7 separate regions of the Homo sapiens genome follow, and regions 1, 2, 3, 4, 6 and 7 are each linked to region 5. Evidence: promoter capture Hi-C in 16 types of primary human blood cells and fetal thymus (Javierre and others, 2016). All regions are on one chromosome and are shown on one strand. Each heading gives the region's core, a stretch centred on a gene start or on the middle of the fragment in contact. The rest is flanking DNA. Distances are from core to core; before and after follow the strand shown.

Region 1 (2,700 bases), core at 55-2,554, 340 kb before region 5:
TTTATTGATGTTATTGATCTTTTCAAAGTGCAGCTTTTGGCTTACAGATTTTTTCTTCTGTTTTTCTGTTTTATATCTCATTGATTTCCACTATGATCTTTATTATTTCTTTTCTTTAGTTTACTTAAGATTTAATTGCTCTCTTCCTAATTTCTTACGGTACCAGCTGAAGTCATTTACTTGAGAAGTTTCTTCTTTTCTAATATAGGTATTTGGTGCTATAAGTTCCTCCTAAGTACTGCTTTTGTGGCTTCTCTCAAATATGTTATGTTTTATTTTTCATTCAACTTAGAATACTTCCTGTTTTCCCCTTTGATTTCTTCTCTGAACCATGGGTTATTTGGAAGTGTGTTATTGTGTTCCTAAATGTTTGAGGATTTTGTAAAGCTCTTTTGGTTATTGGTTTCTAATTTAATTCCATTATGTTCAAAGAACATACTTTGTATGGCCTGAAACTTTAAAAATTCTTTGAGACTTGTTTTATGGCCCTGAATATGGCCATTTTGGTAAACATGTTCCATGTGCACATGTAAATAACGTGTATTCTATTGTTGTTAGGTGGAGGGTTTTATAAGCGTCAGTTAGGTCAACTTGGCTGATTGTGTCGCTTAAAGCTTCTATGGCCTTGTTTTTTTGTTTGTCCCCTCTATTCTTTTTTCCTCTCCCCCTCTTTTTCTGCATACTTTTGAATTAATTGAATATTTTAAATAATTCCATTTAATTTATCCTTTTCTTATCCACATAGTTGCCAATGTTGATGATTTTCCTTCCTTTGTGTAGATTTATATATCTGTTATCCTTTTCTTTCTGCTTCAAGGATCTTCTTTAACATTTGTTGTATCTCAGGTGATAAATTATTTTAGCTTTTGCATGGCTGAAAAAGTCTTATCTTACCTTCAGTCTCAAAATATATTTTCAAAGATATAATATACATCTAAGATATATTCAAAAGATATAATTCAAAGTTGGCAGTGTTTTTTTCTTTTAGTATTTAGAGATATTCTTCCATTATTTTCCGGTATGCATTATTTATGACAGGAAGCTTTTTGTCATGCTTATCTTTGTTTCTCTTCATGTAATGTCCCTAGTTGCTTTTAAAATTTTTCTCTTTATCATAGGCTTTGAGCCATCTGATTGTTCTGTGCCTTAGTACAGTTTTATGTTTCTTGTGCTTAGGGTTTATTGAGGTTCTTGGTTCTGTGAGTTTATAGCTTCATAAAATTTTGAATAATTTTGACCATTATTTCTTCAAGTACTTTTTCTGTTCCCCTCTCCCACCCAGCTTCCTTTATTCCCTGGGATTCCAATTACACATATGTTAGGTTATTTGAAGCTCACTGATGCTCTGAGAAAAGTATATTGGATGGGTTTAACAGCAGATAGACATTGTGGAAGAACATACTGGTAAACTTGAAAACATATAAATAGAAATACCCAACATGAAACAGAGAGAAAAAAGACTAAAAAAATGAACCCAGCTGACATTTTCACTGCAACTCCATGAGAGACTATGAGTCAGAATCACCCAGCTATGCTGCACCCTAATTCCTGACCCAAAAAAGCTTTGAGGCAATACATGTTTGTTAATCCCAGCACTTTGGGGGGCCAAGGTGGGCAAATTGCTTGAGCCTAGGAGTTCAAGACCAGCCTGGGCAACATGGTGAAACACCATCTCTACAACAAATACAAACATTAGCCAGGCATGGTGATGCGCACCTGTAGTCCCAGCTATTGGGGGTGGTGGGGGGCTGAGATTGGAGGATTGCTTGAGCCCTGGAGGTCAAGGCTGCAGTGAGCCATGGTGGCACCACTGTACTCTGGCCTGGGTGGCAGAGCGAGAACCTGTCTCTAAATAAATAAATAAATAAATAAATAAATGTTTGTGGTGTAAGCTGCTAAGTTTTGGTGTAGTTTGTTGTGGAGCCATAGATAACTAATCCATCCTCTTTGAATTTTCCTCTAACTTCTCCATGCGTAAGTCTTTCCTCTTTAGCAACTGAGTTATAAGAAGAGAATCATGAATACCCTATTAACTGTACTTTCTTTTAAAACTTTTCATGATTATTTTTTGTTTTTATACTTTTTCTTTTTTAGAGATAGGGTCTCACCATGTTGTCCAGGCTGGTCTTGAACTCCTGGGCTCAGGGAATCTTCCCCTACCTTGGCCTCCCAAAGTGCTGGGATTATAGTCATGAGACACTGCGCCCGGACTGTTTTATCGTATGGCTTCCATTCTTGTAGTCTAGGTTGATTATGATGATTTCGGCAGTACACAATAGAAAACCAATTCAAGTCGGCTTCAACATATGGAGTCACATATTAAGAAGGTTGCATAGGCCGGGCGCGGTGGCTCACGCCTGTAATCCCAGCACTTTGGGAGGTTGAGATGGGCGGATCACAAGGTCAGGAGATCGAGACCATCCTGGCTAACATGGTGAAACCCCATCTCTACTAAAAATACAAAAAATTAGCCGGGCATGGTGGCAGGCCCCTGTAGTCCCAGCTACTCAGGAGGCTGAGGCAGGAGAATGGCGTGAATCCGGGAGGCAGAGCTTGCAGTGAGCCAAGATCGCGCCACTGCACTCCAGCCTGGGGGATGGAGGGAGACTCCGCCTTGAAAAAAAAAGAAAAAGAAAAAGAAAAGAAGGTTGCATAATAAAACAGGCTGGAAGACTCCAGTGTTGGTTGATTCCACAACTC
Region 2 (2,700 bases), core at 8-2,507, 320 kb before region 5:
CGCTCGCCACCACGCCCAGCTAATTTTTGTATGTTTTTTTTTAGTAGAGACGGGGTTTCACCATGTTGGCCAGGCTGGTCTTGAACTCTTGACCTTGTGATCGGCCTCCCAAAGTGCTGGGATTACAGGCGTGAGCCACCAGGTCCGACCAATAAATCTTTAATGAGTAATTCATAGCCAGGCACCGTGATCAGTGTTGGGGATACTGAAAAAATTTAGAGCCCTTTTATGCAGGTCACAGCCTGTGGGAAAGACAGCCATATAAACCATGAACCACTACTTTTCTTAAACCTATTTTCAGTTAGTTCTACCTTTTGGGGATAACAAGGTCTACAGACAATAGATTATGGAATTTTAAAGCTGAGTGATCTTAGAAATCATCTTTTTTATCTCACTATTTTACGGATGAGGAAATTGTGTTTATGATTTGTTGTGAAAAGTACTGTGACTTTCCCTTACTTGCCTTCAAATGACCTCATCCAGGTTTCAAGTTTAGTCAGTTCGATTAATCTTTACTAAGCATCTATTGTAAGCGGCTCTTCGGAAGAGCTGCAGTACAGCTGTGAAGAAGACATCATCCCTGCCCTCAAGGAGGTCATGGTCTATGGGCAAAGGACACATATGGAGATAACAGCTGTGTTGCTCCGTAGAGGCCCTGTTAGCACAGGGCACTGAAAATACAGAAGGAGCTCCTGATTTGGGTTTGGGGAGTTCAGGGGAAGCTTCTCAGAAAGAAGACCTTTGAGCCATGTCTTGAAAGGCAAAGAGAAATGTGTTAGATGGAAATCTGGGGGAAGGGCATGCCAGGCAGAGGGCATGGAGATGTGAAATAGCATGACTTACGGGAGAGCTACAATAGGTCGGTGATGCTGGGGCTTAAGGAGGAAGGTGGTGAGGAATGAGCCTGGAAAGGAGGGCAGAAACCGAGTGCCAGTACACTTGATGTGGAGCCAGTATGGCCAAAGGCCACCCCTACTTTCCTTGTCTGCTCTTCCTGTCTCTCTGAGGTAAGAAGCTCCTCCACACCCCCGTTTGCAGACTAAAGAGGCCTAATTTGTCAGCCTGTCATCTTAGGGCAGCATAAGGAGTTGCTCCCCATTCCTTAAGGTGTGGCTTAAGTCCCACCACCTCCAGGAAGCCACCCTTGACAACCCTCTGCCTTCAATGAACTCTACTGTCTCGCCCACACTTTGGGATCTGCATTGCTGTTTTTTGTCACCCCATGTAAGTATAACTTGTCTCTACAGTGAGACTTTAAGTTCCTGAGGGTTGGGTGTGTGAGTCACATGGTAATGTTTAATAAACACCAGTAAGAATGAATCCTTTAAATTTGGGTTTCAGGACATATGGCGAGGGTTTGTCAAAAGGTTGGACAGGCCTGGGTTTGATTCCAGCTTTATGGCTAGTTACTAATTAGTAACTCTGGGCAAGTTTTAAAATCTTTTTAATGCCTCAGTTTTTTCATCTATAAAATGGGTGATGGCCTCAACTCACAGGCTGCTGTGAAGACATGGTTGTGGCTGGGGGCCAAGGGAAGCATTGGGGGCTTTTCAACAGTGGGGCTTTGGACAGGCAGCAACAGCGGGAAGACGCCTGAGTGCGGTGCATCTGGAGGGCAACGTGGAAAACCTGACATGATCAGGCCCTGTGGTTGAGAGCTCCCAGCTGATTCACTAACCTGTCGGTGCTTGACAGTTACAAAGTACTTGGCCGGTGCTCTCATTGGACTAAGGAAATTGAAGGCCTGAGAACATAAGCAACTGGTCACAAAGTGGGCGAGTGGCAAAGCTTGTGCTGGTGAGAAGGAAGGCAGAGGGTGGAGCGCACAGCCTGTATGTAATGATATAGGAGGCAGTAATATGCTGATAAATGTTGAACAGCCAGGAAAGATTTAGCAAGCGGCTTCCAGGAAAACATAAGCTCTAATTTACAGTGTTAGCCGATTTCTGTGGTGTAAATACTCTGATCATGGCTGATTTCAAGCTGCTAATGTGACATCACTGTGGAGTTAGGAAGAGATGTGTATGGATGATCAGAAGGTCATCTTGCCTGTGGTCACACAGCCATCCCTGCAGCAGAGAACGGTTCCAGCCTGGGCAGTCTGACACTTGAGCCCAAGCTCTAAACATGACATTGTCCTCCTCCTCCTGTTCATGACAGGATAGCTGTAACAAGGGGCATGAGCTGGCTCCGTGGCATCAGCTGTCAAGTTCCAGCCCATTTCCAGATAACCACTGATCTTTGGTGCTGGCATAGTTAGGGCTCTACCCAAGCTATCTTTCATCCTTATCCATGATGGCAGGACGTGCTCTGATAGGCCCCATTTGGATCCCATTGGCACAGCCAGAAGAACTGGAGGCAAGAGGCTGGCCAGAAAGGTTAGCTGAGGCAGAAGGCAGCTCATGGGGGTAGAGTGAGCATAGGAATACCCAGGCCTGGAGCCTGTTCTCCAAAATTGATTTTTCACAGCCCAGAAAACTGTATCCAACACTAAAAAACCAACACGAACAGCACATTTTTGCTACTAACAACATATTCATGATAATTTATTAGAGGATCATTAAACCTAAGTATGCGATCTGGAGCCTTGAACCAAGCAGGTGGCTCTGTCTGCGGATGGAGGAGAGGGAGGGAAATCAAGAATACAGAAGGGAAGGGCAGGGAAGGCAGAGGATGCTGAAGGGGTTGGGGGTGGGTTCT
Region 3 (2,737 bases), core at 233-2,732, 320 kb after region 5:
ATTTCTTTCCTTTTTTTTTTTTTGGAAACTTAGTCTCACTTTGTCACCATGCTGGAGTGCAGTGGTGCGATCTCGGCTCACTGCAACCTCCGCCTCCCAGGTTGAAGTGATTCTCCTGCCTCAGCCTCCCAAGCAACTGGGACTACAGGGCACCACCAGGCCCAGCTAATTTTTGCATTTTTAGTAGAGATGGGGTTTCACCATGTTGGCCAGGATGGTCTTGATCACTTGACCTCGTGATCCGCCCGCCATGGCCTCCCAAAGTGCTGGGATTACAGGTGTGAGCCACTGTGCACAGCCTCAGATCTTTATTATCTTACCATCAAACTCAATCATGGCCCTAGTGCTCAGTAACAGCTACCTAATGTCTAATCACTTTCAGAATATGGGCTGAGTATTAGATAATACAAAATTATTAACCTTATCAGGATTGATAATAGTATTATGGTAATGTAAGAGTATCCTCCTTTAAGGGAAGCATGTTGAAGAACTTAAGGGTATCAAGTATTATGTCTACAACTTCCAGATAATTCCAAGTGTCCACTGATGAGTAAACAAAATGCCACATATATGTACAACGGAATATTAGCCTTAAAAAGGAATGAAATTCTGACCCATGCCACAATATGGACGAACCTTGAAACATTACACTAAGTGAAGTAAGTTAGACATACAAGGTCAAATATTACATGATTTCACTTACATGAGATCTCTAAAACAGGCAAATTCATAGAAATAGAAAACAGGGCCGGGGATGGTGGCTCACACCTATAATCCCAGCACTTTCCGAGGCCAAGGAGGGTGGATCACTTGAGGCCAGGAGTTAGAGACCATCCTAGGCAACATGGCAAAACCCTGTCTCTACTAAACATACCAAAATCAGCCAGGTGTGGTGGCACACACCTGTGGCCCTAGCTGCTTGGGAGGCTGAGGTGGGAAAAACGCTTGAGCCCAGGAGGCAGAGGCTGCAGTGAGCCGAGATCTCACCATTGCACTCCAGCCTGGGCAACAGAGCAAGACTCCATCTCAAAAAAAAGAAAAAAGAAAAAAAAAAAAAAGCCAAGTGTGGTGGCGCACACCTGTTGTCCCAGCTACTAAAGAGGCTGAGGTGGGAGGATTGCTTGAACCCAGGTGTCCATGGCTGCAGTGATCATGCTACTGCACTCCAGCCTGGGTGACAGGGCAAGACCCCATCTCTTAATTCATTTGTTTTAAAAAGATTACCTACCCAAGACTTGGTAGTTTGTTGCTGCCTACTCTTCCAACCCAAGCCTATTATACATTACAGTTAGTGGGTCATTTTATGCTCACAGTAAGTTAGAACAACCCTGTAGCTAAATATACACCAGGAACACTCTGGAAGCTAGACTCAAAACAGCTTTTAGAATTTATGCTGCTATCTCAAAACCTGGCAAGTTTCAGGAAACTGTAACCTTTCTCCCTCCTCTGTATGCACATCTGTTGCTGGCACAAGATGGGTCAGGAGAAAGAATTACTATTATCTTCCCAAAGGCGACTTCAGTTTTCTGAAATGATCTCACCCACCCAAATACATCCAATATCCCTGGGAGCTGACTTTGCTTCCCATTGGTTTCACTAGTAGCTAGTTTATTCGTAACATAAACCTATATTCTCCAGCTTATTTTCCTTTTTGATACTGTATAACATCAGCCTTATAGCACTAGACAGAAGATGCTGGAAGGTAAGATAAAATGTGATTTGCGAAAAAACATTCAGACTTTTAAAAAAACATAAATAGCCCCACCTGATTCCCCCCATAAAATCTGGAGACAATTATTCTAGAGTAAACCCAAAACAAATCAAAAGCATATCTTGATTGGCCAGATAGTAAATATTCAAATAAGGTCAACAGTGTAAAATTTAATCCAGGATAACACTTTTGAAGAAAAAACCCACCAATTTAAATTCAATTGTTTTTAAAAGTTTTCCATTATTATTTCCCATTGTCTCAAAGAAATTGACAAACCTCCTGCATTTAGCTGGAGTGACTCTGTAGTATCAGAAAGCTGTTGTATCTGAGGCCAGGTTTCATGGCTCACGCCTGTAATCCTAACATTTTGGAAGGCCGAGGCAGGAGGATTGCCTGAGCTCAGGAGTTCAAGACCACCCTGGGCAACATAGTGAAACACTGTCTCCACTAAAATACAAAAAATTAGCCAGGCATGGTGGTGCATGCCTGTAGTCCCAGCTACTCGGGAAGCTGAGGCATGAGAATTGCTTGAACCCAGGAGGCAGAGTTTGCAGTGAGCCGAGATGTACTCCGGCCTGGGAGACAGAGAGAGACACCGTCTCAAAAAAAAAAAATTAGCTGGGTATGGTGGTGAATGCCTGTAATCCCAGCTACTCTGGAGGCTGAGGCACAGGATCACTTGAACCTGGGAGGTGGAGGCTGCAGAGAGCAGGTTCACGCCACTGCACTCCAGCCTGGGCAACAAGAGCAAGACTCTGACTCAAGAAAAAAAACAAGTTGTTATCTGTAAGGATGAATTTTGATATCTATTCCAACCAAAGAGCCCCAGTATAAGACCCAATAAATGAAAATGATTTCAAAATAATACACTGGGCCAGGTGCGGTGGCTCATGCCCATAATCCCAGCACTTTGGGAGGACGAGGCGGGCAGCTAGCTTGAGTCCAGGAGTTTGAAATCAGCCTGAGCAACATGGAGAAACCCTGGCTCTACTAAAAATGGGAAAATCAGCTGGACATGGTGGCCCA
Region 4 (2,700 bases), core at 141-2,640, 270 kb after region 5:
TCCTGACCTCAGGTGATCCTCCTGCCTTGGCCTCCCAAAGTGTTGGAATTACAGGCATGAGCCACTGTGCCCAGCCAACTACATTGTTATTAACTGTAGTCACCATGATGTACAATAGATCTCTTGAACTTATTCCTCCTGTCCAACTGAAATTTGGTATCCATTGACCAATGTCTCCCCAGCATTCACCACCCCCTAGTCTCTGGTAGCCACCATTCTACTCTCTACCTGCATGAGGTTTTTTTAAGATTCCATATATAAGTGGGATCATGTGGTATTTGTCTTTCTGTGCCTGGCTTACTTCACTTAACATAATGTGCTCTAGGTTCATCGATGTTGTAAATGACAGGATCTCATTCTTTGTTTTCTATTTTTTCTGTAAAGAATGTCTTTATTTTAGAGATGACGTCTCGCTATGTTGCCCAGGCTGACCTTGAACTCCCTGGCTCAAGCAATCTTCCTGCCTCAGCCTCCTGAGTAGCTGAGACAACATGAGCATGCTACCGAGCCAGGCTTCATTCCTTTGTAAGGCTGAATAGTACTGCATTGTGTATATATGCCACATTTTCTTTATCCATTAACCCACTGCAGGAGACTTGGGTTGATTCCTACTCTCAGCTATTGTGAACAGTACTGCAGTGAACATGGCAGTGCAGGTATCTCTTCAACATACTGATTTCAGTTGCCTTGAATATATACCTAGTAGCTGGATTGCTGGATCTCCATTGTCTTATACTTTGTGTTGCTGATAAAGTTTGAGAATATTATGATTCTTGATCCTTTAGGTTATTTTGTTATCCACTGACACAGCCCTCAGGAGATCCTGAGAACATGTGCCCCATTTTTCTTTCTCTCTCCCTCTAGAATCTTTTAAACTCTGTTGTCTCCAGTGTTCTAAAATTTCATATGGCATGCCTTAGAGTGGGTTTATTTTCACCCTTGGTGTCTGGCATGTGGCAAGTCCTTTCAGGTTAGAAAGTAATATCCTTCAGGCCGGGCACAGTGGCTCTTTCCTGTAATTCCAGCACTTTGAGAGGTCGAGGTGGGAGGATAACTTCAGCCCAGGAGTTGGAGACCAGCCAGGGCAACATGGCAAGACCACCGTCTCTACCAAAAACAAAACAAAACAAAACAAAACAAAAAACAAAAAACAAAAATTAGTCGGGTGTGGTGGTGCACACCTATAGTCCCAGCCACTCAGGCTGAGGCAGGAGGATTGCTTGAGCCCAGGAATTCGAGGCTGCAATGAGCTATGATTGTGCCACTGCACTCCAATCTGGGTGACAGAGTGAGATTCTGTCTCAAAAAAAATTAAGTAATATTCTTCAATTCTGGAATATTTTCATGACTTATTTCATTGATAATTTATGCCGTTCTAGTTTTATGTTTTTCTTTCTTTTCTTTTCTTTTTTCTTTTTTTTTTTTTTTGAGATGGAGTCTCACTCTCTCTCCCAGGCTGGAGTGCAGTGGCGTGATCTCGGTTCACTGCAAACTCCACCTCCTGGGTTCACGCCATTCTCCTGCTTCAGCCTCCCAAGTAGCTGGGACTACAGGCACTCGCCCCCACGCCCAGCTAATTTTTTGTATATTTAGTAGAGATGGGGTTTCGCCGTGTTATACAGGATGGTCTCGATCTCCTGATCTCATGATCCGCCCGCCGCGGCCTCCCAAAGTGCTGGGATTATAGGCGTGAGTCACTGCGTCCAGCCTTTTTTCTCTTATTTTTTGATCAGTTATTTTGTTTACTTTGTGGAGAGTTCAACTTTGGAGAGTTGAACTCTATCACATTTGTGGGTTTTATTTCTGTTTTTAGAGACAGAGTCTCACTCTGTCACCCAGGCTGGAGTGCAGTGGCACAATCATAGCTCATTGCAGTTTTGAACTCCTGGACTCAAGCGATCCTCCTACCTCAGCCTTCCCAGTAGCAGGGACTACAGTGTGCACCACCCTGCCTGGCTAATCTTTAATTTTTTGTAGAGACGGGTCTCACTATGTTGCCCAGACTGTCTCCAACTCCTGGGCTAAAGCCATTCTCTCCCTTCAGCCTTCCAAACTGTTGGGATTACAGGCATGAGCCACTGCACCCGGCCAAGTACATACATCTTTATAGTGCTTAGAAATATGAATCAATAGGCTAGGTGCAGTGGCTCATGCCTGTAATCCCAGCACTTTGGGAGGCCAAGGTGGGTGGATTACTTGAGGTCAGGAGTTCAAGACCAGCCTGGCCAACATGGTGAAAGCCTGTCTCCATTAAAAACTCAGAAATGTAGGCTGGGCGCAGTAGCACATGCCTGTTATTCCAACATTTTGGGAGGCCGAGGCGGGCATCTGAGGTCAGGAATTCAAGAGCCTGGCCAACATGGTGAAACCCCGTCTCTACTAAAAATACAAAAATTAGCCAGGCGTGGTGGTATGCACCTGTAATCCCAGCTACTTGAGAAGCTGAGGCAGGAGAATGACTTGAACTCGGGAGGCGAAGGTTGCAGTGAGCCAAGATCGTGCCATTACACTCCAGCTTGGGCAACAGAGTGAGACTGTCTCAAAAAAAAAAAAAAACAAATTGCCGGGTGTGGTGGCTTGAGCCTGTAGTCCCAGCTACTCGGGAGGCTCAGGCAGGAGAATCGCCTGAGCCTCCACTTACAGGTGGAGGTTGCAGTGAGATGAGATTGTACCACTGCCCTCCAGCCTGGGAAACAGAGC
Region 5 (2,766 bases), core at 157-2,656:
ATTTTGCTTTTCTTTTATTCTTTGGCAGTGATAGGCGAAAAATAATGGGCTGGTAGCAAAGCCATTCCCTGGGCTGTTGCTTCCACTCAGATCTGGCTGGTGGAGAGACTGGCAGCATTACAGGCAGGCGCACAACTTCCAGACCTGGGGGCTCAGGGGAGTAGGTTGGAGGCTGCATTCTAGCAAGCCACTGGGGCTCTGATCTCCATCTTTCCCTTCCTTGCTGCAGTGCACACAGGAAGACGTGTCTTCAGAAGATGAAGATGAGGAGATGCCTGAGGTAGGCTTGCCCCCTGAGGTGGCATTGGCTGGAAGCTCTTGCAGTCAGCAACATTGGTACCCATATCCAGAACTCCAGTCTAAAACTGGAGAGAGAAAAATATCAAAGGAATAAAGACAGATTTACTGACCTGGAGGAATAGCCAGTGTAGTAGAGGAGACAGGGCACCCATATCCAACCACTGAAGACAGGTGCAGCGCGGTTCAAACCAAATACTGGGTAAGTTAATTTCAAATGGCTTTGGAGTCCAACAAACCTGTGTTTGCATCCTAGCTATCCTAATTGAGGAATTTTATGTAATCTCACTAAGCTACAGTTTTCTTATCTATAAAGTAGGATTATAATACCTACTGCATATGGTTGTCTTGAGATTAAATGAGGTGTTATATATAAAATGCTTCAGATGATACATGATAAATGCTAAACAATCTATCTGATATATTCTCTAAAAACATACAGAATATAAAATCATGGTTAGGAATTTGAGCTTTAGAGCTAGACAGAACTTGACTGAATCTTAGCTCTGCTAAGAGCTGTGACTTTGGGCATGATAATTGACCTCACTAGACTCAGCTTCCGCATCTATAAAATGGATAATGATAGAATAATGAGTGATGGTGGTAAGAATGAAATGAGCTAGTATCTGCGGCACCTAGGACAGAACCTGGCATGTAATAAACACTCAGTAGACATTACCTGCTGGTGTGGTAATTAGGTATGTCCTGCCAGAAATGGGGAGATCACTCTGATTACTTTTATTTCCTAGCATTAGATTAATATCCCAGGTTCTATAACCGTGTAAGGTTCTTGAGACTGGCAAAGGGCTGACGACATGAAATTTACTCCTCCCAGATAGTGGACAGCCCTCTGGGCCACACCCCCAACATCTGGCTGAGGGGCTCAACCCTACATAGGTTCTCCTCCTTCCCTATGCTCAGTGAGCTAGTTGCTTGCTCACTTAGAGCAGGATGAATAAGGGGCTAATTCTGTTCTTGACCTCTTCCATATATCTCTCTGGACATCCTTTCTCATTTCCATCTGGCAGTGCGTGCCTCTGCATACCTGATTCATGCCTTGCATTTGTAGCGAGGAGAGGAGATGTAATGATTCAGGTTTCTCCTTTAGGCTTGGGGCCCTGAGAACTCCCGGGTGCAATAGTCACCTGGTGAAACATGAGCTTTGAGTCACAGGGTCAGGCCCAAGTCATTTCTGCTAGGAATTAGGGAAGAGTTTCTGCTGCCAAGGGAGTTTTAGGAACAGTTGGAGCAGGGTCAGTCCAGGAAACAAGAGGGCTAAGTCCCTGCCTCGATCTCAGCTGCAGCTCTGCTCGTTTCCGAAGTCCTTGCTGTAGCTTGAGAGCTGAAGATTTAGACTGTGGAGGGAATGGGGCTGGAAATTGTTCTAAAAATGGAAAGCACGTTGCGTTTATAAGACTGCTAGATGGACTGCTTCACTTTAACTTTTGGCTCTTCGCCAAATGGGACTGGGAAGGTGATGGTCATTCTCTAACCTGTGTCGGTTTTTTTCCTTTTCTTTTCACTCCCACCCCACACCTCCTCCAGGACACAGAAGACTTAGATCACTATGAAATGAAAGAGGAAGAGCCAGCTGAGGGCAAGAAATCTGAAGATGATGGCATTGGAAAAGAAAACTTGGCCATCCTAGAGAAAATTAAAAAGAACCAGAGGCAAGATTACTTAAATGTACGTGCCTTCTAGAGAGAGGCTGGTGAAGGGGTTGGTGGGAAATGGCTGGGAAGTAGTAGGCCATCGCATCTCAGTATGGAGAGCAGACTCCTTTTTTGTGCCTAATCCTTTCTTAAATCCTGGGCAAGCTGCCAGACTGCCCCTAAGGTCTAACGTGTGTTTATAAACCACACGACCAAGGAATGTTCCTGTCATCCGTCCCTCACAGGGTGCAGTGTCTGGCTCGGTGCAGGCCACTGACCGGCTGATGAAGGAGCTCAGGGATATATACCGATCACAGAGTTTCAAAGGCGGTGAGTTTGCCCCAGAGAGGGGCCTGCACAAGAGTCACCCATAAAGAAGGGTATGGTGGCAAGGGGCCCAAGAGGTTCTGGGGTCCAGGAGTGCTTATGAACTTTTCAGGCCAAGAATGGAGCTCCTCAAGCCAGTGGCTTGGTTGCATGTCCATCTGTGGTGAACCTAGAGCTGTTGATCTTTTTCTCTCAGTCTGGGAAAGGGGTCTGCATTAGAGACCACTCACCACCTGGACCATTCTACTAACACCTGTTTTTTCCCTCCTTCCAGGAAACTATGCAGTCGAACTCGTGAATGACAGTCTGTATGATTGGAATGTCAAACTCCTCAAGTGAGTGGGGACTCTGGGATTGGAGAGGAAGTTGAGGAGGAGTGTGAGTGGGGCTACTGTGGTGGGATCTCCAGGGCAGCCCCATCCAGCATTTTCATTCAGGGTCCCGGAGCGGGTGTGGGCAGTGGTTTCGTGGTCTGCTGCCAGCCAGGGCA
Region 6 (2,794 bases), core at 136-2,635, 300 kb before region 5:
CGATGGTGATAAGTGCTATGATGAGTGTTATGAAGAGCCTCTTCCCTCCAAGATACAACTTCTTACTCCATTGACAAGTCTTAGATCCCAATCTGTTAAGGCCCCAACTAATTTTACAGCCAGAGTTAGATAACAGGAAAAAGACATCTCTTTTCCTTTCATCATTGTCATCATCAATAACAATCACAATTGTTAGGACCACTCTGGATGGGAGTGCAGGGGCTTCTGAGAGGAGAGTGGTCATATTATTTTATTTATTTTCAAATTAATTTATTATTATTATTATTTTTGAGATGGAGTCTTGCTCTGTCGCCCAGGCTGGAGTTCAGTGGCCCAATCTCGGCTCACTGCAAGCTCCGCCTCCCGGGTTCACGCTATCCTCCTGCCTCAGCCTCCCGAGTAGCTGGGACCACAGGTGCCTGCCACAACACCTGGCTAATTTTTTGTATTTTTAGTAGAGACGGGGTTTCACCATATTAGCCAGGATGGTCTTGATCTCCTGACCTCATGATCTGCCTGCCTTGGCCTCCCGAGATGCTGGGATTATAGGCATAAGCCACCGCGCCCAGCTTTTTTTTTGTGAGACGGAGTCTCACTCTGTCACCCAGACTGGAGTGCAGTGGCGTGATCTCGGCTCACTGCAACTTCCGCCTCCCAGATTCAAGTGATTCTCCTGCCTCAGCCTCCTGAGTAGCTGGGATTGCAGGCACATACCACCATGCCCAGTTAATTTTTGTATTTTTAGTAGATACTGGGTTTCATCATGTTGGTCAGGCTGGTCTTGAACCCCTGACCTCAAGTGATCTGCCTGCCTTGCCCTCCCAAAGTGCTGGGATTACAGGCATGAGCCACCATGCCCGGCTGAGAGTGGTCATTTTAAATAAATGCTCAGAGCTAGGTGCAGTGGCTAATGCCTGTAATTCTAGCACTTTGAGAGGCCGAGGCAGGAGGATCGCTTGAGCTCAGGAGTTTGAGACCAGCCTAGGCCATATAGTGAGACGCCTTCTAAACAAAACAAAAAATTAGCTGGGCATGGTGGTGCGTGCCTGTGGTCCCAGCTACTTGGGAGTCTGAGGTGGGAGGATCGCTTGAGCCCAGGAGGTCAAAGCTGTAGTGAGCTGTGATCGTGCCACTGCACTCCAGCCTGGGGAATAGAGTGAGACCTGGTCTCAAACAAAAACAAAAACAAAAACAGAAAACAAAAACCACAAATAAAACAAATAAAGAAGTGCTTAGGGCCAGGCATGGTAGCTCACGCCTATTATCCTGGCACTTTGGGAGGCCAAGGCAAGAGGCTTGCTTGAAGCCAGGAGTTTGAGACCAGCCAGGACAGCATGGCAAGACTCTCATCTTTACAGAAAAAAAAAAAAAGCTGAGTACATTGGTGTGCACCTGTAGTCCTAGCTACTTGGGTGGCTGGGGTGGGAAGATCCCGTAAGCCCAGGAATTCGAGGATGCAGTGAGCTGTGATTACGCCACTGTGCTCCAGCCTGGGTGACATGTGAAACCCTGTCTCTAAAAATAAACACATAAATAAATAAATTAAATAAGTGCTCAGGGAAGGCCTTACCAAAAAGGTGATGTCTATTGGAGGATCTGAAGTGGTGAGGGATCCAGCCACCTGGGGGAAGAGGAATAGCAAGGTGAAGGCCCTGAGGGGGGATCATGCCTGGTGTGTTGTAGACAGCACTGTCCGGTGGACACGAAATGGGAGCTACCGCTGTCATTTTAAATTCCTGAGTAGCCATATTAAAAATAGTGAAAAGAGAAAAGTAGAATTATACATGTTAATAATATTTTTAATTTAACCCAACATAGCCAGAATATTATTATTTGAATGTGCAAGCAATACAAAAAATTATTGAGATCTTTTACACTTTATTTTTTGTACTAAGTCTTTGAAATCTGGTGTGTCTCTGACACAGCATATCTCAATCAGACATTAAGTTTTCATTGGAGATACTTGATCTGTATTTAGAGTTTATAAAATTTACAATTAAAAGAACAGACTTGCTGGGCATGGTGGCTGACACCTGTAATCCCAGCACTTTGGGAGGCAGAGGCAGGTGGATTGCTTAAGGCCAGGAGTTCGAGTCCAGCCTGGGTAATGTAACACAGTGAGACTCTATCTCTCTAAAAAAAAAAAAAAAAAAAATTAGCTGGGTGTGTGGCATATGCCTGTGGTTCTAGCTACTTGGGAGGTTGAGGTGGGGGATAGCTTGCTGTTGAGGCTGTGGTGAGCCATGCGTGTGCCTCTGCACTCCAGCCTGGGCAGCAGAGCAAGACCCTGACTCCCCGTCCGAGAAAAAAAAAAGAATAGATTCACACACTCAAGTTGTTGAAAACGTACTTAAAATTTTTCCAATAAAAGAGTGGAGTGTCTTTTTATATTTAATTTTAAATGAAATGGACTTAAAATCCAGTTGCACTGGTCATGTTGCAGGGGCTCAGTGGACACACGTGGCTCGTGTCCTCACACTGGACGGTGCAGGCCTGGGAGCAGAGAGGATGCCTGTGAGGCTGATTCAGTGAGTGGAGGGATCATGTGGGCGGGGTTGTGAGGTCACAGGGGAGGCGGGTCTGGCTCTGCAGGGATTTGTAGACCGTCCTGAGGAGTGTGGCCTTTACCCTGGGTGAGATGGGAGCAAGAGGAGGGCTTGGAGTAGAGAAGTGACAAGATCTGACTTACATTTTAATGGGACCACTCTGACTGCAGTGTTTGGAACAGACAGGGAGGGTCAAGCCAGGGTCAGGGAGCCCCGCTGAGAGGCTGTGGGGACAGCTCAGGTGAGGG
Region 7 (2,700 bases), core at 53-2,552, 290 kb after region 5:
ATGAGGACAATGATAGGTCAGGTAAAAGAAGGAGTGGCAAGGCAGTGAGATTGCCACTGTGAGTAGTAGCATAAAGGGGCAGAGATGAGCAGAGAAGACCACCTCAACCACTGTATTTCCTGGAAAAAGCTAGCAAATGGCTTGAAACTAAGTCAAGATATCACTTTTTTTGGAGATGGGGTCTTGCTATGTTGCCCAGGCTGGTCTTGAACTCCTGGGCTCAAGCAATTCTCCCACCTTGGCCTCCCAAGTAGCTGAGACTACAAGTGTGTGCTACCATGCCTGGCTAAGATATCATCTAGAAATCACAGGGAGACAACACAAAGTGGGATGAATAGGAAAAGCCATGACATGCCCAACTTTAGCAGGATTTTGAATCTACCAATCCTGATTTATCACATCCCTTCTTGCTACCAATCAGGTGTCTGCCATCAATCCCAACACTATCTCCCTTTTTATTTATTTAGTCCCATCCCAATCCTACCAGAATAAGGGTTGCTGGCCAGGCTACCATCCCTCCCAGTCAGCGGAGTAGTGGGTGTGGGAAATGGGATGCTGTAGTAATCCTAGAAAAGAGGGGAAAAAAGAGCAGAGATTCAATGTCACTCATTCCCCAGCATGAGTACTATTTCCACGGAGGAAAAAACAGAAGAATGTGAGAGTTGTGCAATTTATCCAGTCACTAATTAAGCTGGCTAGAGTTAGCACAAACTCCACATTACTCTTGCATACACTGTCCCCCCTGCCTGGCCATGAGCACAGTCAGACAAGGTCTACGGGTATGCCCACTTGAGAATACATCAAAGTCCACGAGGACCAATATTTTCAACCCTCTAGGTGTCATCCCTATCAGTTTATACCAAGCTTATTCTACTGAGAAAACAGATCATTCGATAATTTAAAGTGTCTGGGACAAACAGAAAGCACCCTGAGTGCTCCAGAGTACTTTACTGGGCTATAGAATAGGTTAAAATGTATTTACTAAGATGCCACAACTCTGATTTAAAAAAAGAAAAAAAAAAGGCTGGGTGCGGCGGCTCATGCCTATAAGCTCAGCACTTAGGGAGGCAGAGGCGGGTGGATCATAAGGTCAGGAGTTCAAGACCAGCTTGGCCAAGATGGTGAAACCCCGCCTCTACTAAAAATACAAAAAAAATTAGCTGGGGGTGGTGGTGGGCACCTTTAATCCCAGCTACTCGGAAGGCTGAGGCAGACAATTGCTTTAACCCAGGCGGCGGAGGTTGCAATGAGCCAAGATCACACCACTGCACTCCAGCTTGAGCGACAGAGAAAGACTCTGTCTCAAAAAAAAAAGTTATCTTCTGTTGGAAACCCTCCCCCAAATCCCTATATTCTAATATGCCTTAAATCAGAGTGTATGGAGGGCTGGGATGGGAAAGAGCTATGTCTGTGACGGAGATAATTCTCCCAACACTAATTTTAAGACTACTTTCTTTTCCAAAGCTCTATCCCACATACTCACCAATGGAAATCTTGTCTGAAGCATCTGCAAGTCATCATAACCATATACTTGTGGCTGAAAGATACAGACATATAGCAATAACAGGAACTGGTCATGATGTTAGCAAAACAAGGAGCCAAGAGACAAGCTAATTCAACAGAACATTCATCCTCATTCTGGGTTAGAACAGGACACGGATTATTTCCTTCAATTTTATTTAAGGAAAAAGCAGTAAAGTACACAGAGATTAAATGATTCATGAAAGGTCTTGAAGCTTTCCTTGAGCTAAATACTACTGATTCTAGTAGGCTGGCTTCTTGATACCAATAGAGTAGACACAAAACATACACGAACAACCAGTTTTACTCTCTATTCTACAAGTCTCTGTCTCTTATACTCTTCAAAATCTGGCTTAAAAATAATCTCCTCTGGAAAGAATACTTCACTTTTCTCCAATGTCAGGGTTTTAAGGTAGTGACCACAAATTAAAAATGTGTAACTGTGTTATTTGGATGTGTCATCGGTATGAAATTTATCTAGACTTTGTCTATGAGGGCAGGAACAGGTATCTTCTAAAACGTTTCCATATATCCTTCATCTTAATAGGTACCAAATACTTGAAGGTCACAGAAGATACACTAGGGCAAAAAGCTACTAATGTCAGCCACTTATTCTCAAAGTCCCAGATTGAGTCAGGAAACTTTCCTCTAACCAGGCCAGACCAGCAAACACACTCAGAGTTAGGGATTTAATCAAATCAGAGAAAATAATTCTTGGGGCCAGGAGTAGTGGCTCAGGCCTATATATAACCCCAGTTATTTGAGAGGCTGAGGCAGGAGGACTGTCTGAACCTGGGATTTTGAGACCAGCCTAGGCAACATAGGAAGACCCTGTCTCTAAAAAAATTTTTAAAACTTAGCCAGGCATGGGGATGCACACCTGTAGTCCTAGCTACTTGGGGAGTCTGAGGTGAGAGGATTGCTTGAGCCCAGGAGTTCAAGGCTGCAGTGAGCTAGCTATGATCGTTCCACTGTACTCCAACCTGGGTAAAAGAGCAAGATCTGCCTCAAAAAATAAAATAATAGTCATAATTATCTAAGAAACCAAAAAGGATTCCAGATGAACATTCTGGCCTTTGGCTTCTGAGGCCCAGAAGCTGTGTTTCAAACAGGGCAGATATTCTCATCACACATATACATACACATTGTACGCACACACACACATGCATACATGTGTGC

Evidence for each region. Contacts are between HindIII fragments. The CHiCAGO score rates a contact against its expected background, and 5 or more counts as called.
Region 1: a contact is called between a fragment that was not itself captured here and the fragment with the promoter of UBE2Q1-AS1 in region 5, in 4 of 17 cell types (M0 macrophages, megakaryocytes, erythroblasts and 1 more). The highest score is 7.8, in M0 macrophages.
Region 2: a fragment that was not itself captured here is called in contact with the fragment with the promoter of UBE2Q1-AS1 in region 5 in 17 of 17 cell types (M1 macrophages, M2 macrophages, M0 macrophages and 14 more); the score reaches 13.8 in M1 macrophages.
Region 3: a fragment that was not itself captured here is called in contact with the fragment with the promoter of UBE2Q1-AS1 in region 5 in 4 of 17 cell types (M2 macrophages, M1 macrophages, M0 macrophages and 1 more); the score reaches 9.2 in M2 macrophages.
Region 4: a fragment that was not itself captured here is called in contact with the fragment with the promoter of UBE2Q1-AS1 in region 5 in 1 of 17 cell types (M2 macrophages); the score reaches 7.5 in M2 macrophages.
Region 6: a fragment that was not itself captured here is called in contact with the fragment with the promoter of UBE2Q1-AS1 in region 5 in 1 of 17 cell types (M1 macrophages); the score reaches 7.0 in M1 macrophages.
Region 7: a fragment that was not itself captured here is called in contact with the fragment with the promoter of UBE2Q1-AS1 in region 5 in 4 of 17 cell types (M1 macrophages, M2 macrophages, M0 macrophages and 1 more); the score reaches 7.8 in M1 macrophages.

The regions. Positions count from the first base shown.
Region 1 is chr1:154,889,980-154,892,679 of GRCh38, reverse strand. No RefSeq gene overlaps it. Among named protein-coding and RNA genes, the nearest start is that of KCNN3, 21 kb to the right of the region's middle. The HindIII fragment of the contact is 520 bases long and covers 1,045-1,564 here.
Region 2 is chr1:154,872,500-154,875,199 of GRCh38, reverse strand. No RefSeq gene overlaps it. Among named protein-coding and RNA genes, the nearest start is that of KCNN3, 3.6 kb to the right of the region's middle. The HindIII fragment of the contact is 1,066 bases long and covers 725-1,790 here.
Region 3 is chr1:154,229,610-154,232,346 of GRCh38, reverse strand. All of the region lies in intron 4 of UBAP2L (ubiquitin associated protein 2 like), which reads right to left. Among named protein-coding and RNA genes, the nearest start is that of UBAP2L, 10 kb to the right of the region's middle. The HindIII fragment of the contact is 3,253 bases long and covers 1-2,737 here.
Region 4 is chr1:154,280,612-154,283,311 of GRCh38, reverse strand. No RefSeq gene overlaps it. Among named protein-coding and RNA genes, the nearest start is that of HAX1, 9.3 kb to the right of the region's middle. The HindIII fragment of the contact is 7,430 bases long and covers 1-2,700 here.
Region 5 is chr1:154,552,249-154,555,014 of GRCh38, reverse strand. UBE2Q1-AS1 (UBE2Q1 antisense RNA 1) reads right to left here and starts at 1,406. Exons shown (of 2, transcript NR_046668.1): 1 at 1,343-1,406; 2 at 1-365. UBE2Q1 (ubiquitin conjugating enzyme E2 Q1) reads left to right here. Exons shown (of 13, transcript NM_017582.7): 4 at 230-280; 5 at 1,843-1,983; 6 at 2,195-2,279; 7 at 2,551-2,611. The HindIII fragment of the contact is 6,880 bases long and covers 1-2,766 here.
Region 6 is chr1:154,851,731-154,854,524 of GRCh38, reverse strand. All of the region lies in intron 1 of KCNN3 (potassium calcium-activated channel subfamily N member 3), which reads left to right. Among named protein-coding and RNA genes, the nearest start is that of KCNN3, 17 kb to the left of the region's middle. The HindIII fragment of the contact is 3,549 bases long and covers 1-2,794 here.
Region 7 is chr1:154,257,814-154,260,513 of GRCh38, reverse strand. It overlaps UBAP2L (ubiquitin associated protein 2 like), which reads right to left. Exons shown (of 27, transcript NM_014847.4): 21 at 1,484-1,537; 22 at 485-566. SNORA58B (small nucleolar RNA, H/ACA box 58B) reads right to left here and starts at 787; the gene lies at 652-787. The HindIII fragment of the contact is 872 bases long and covers 867-1,738 here.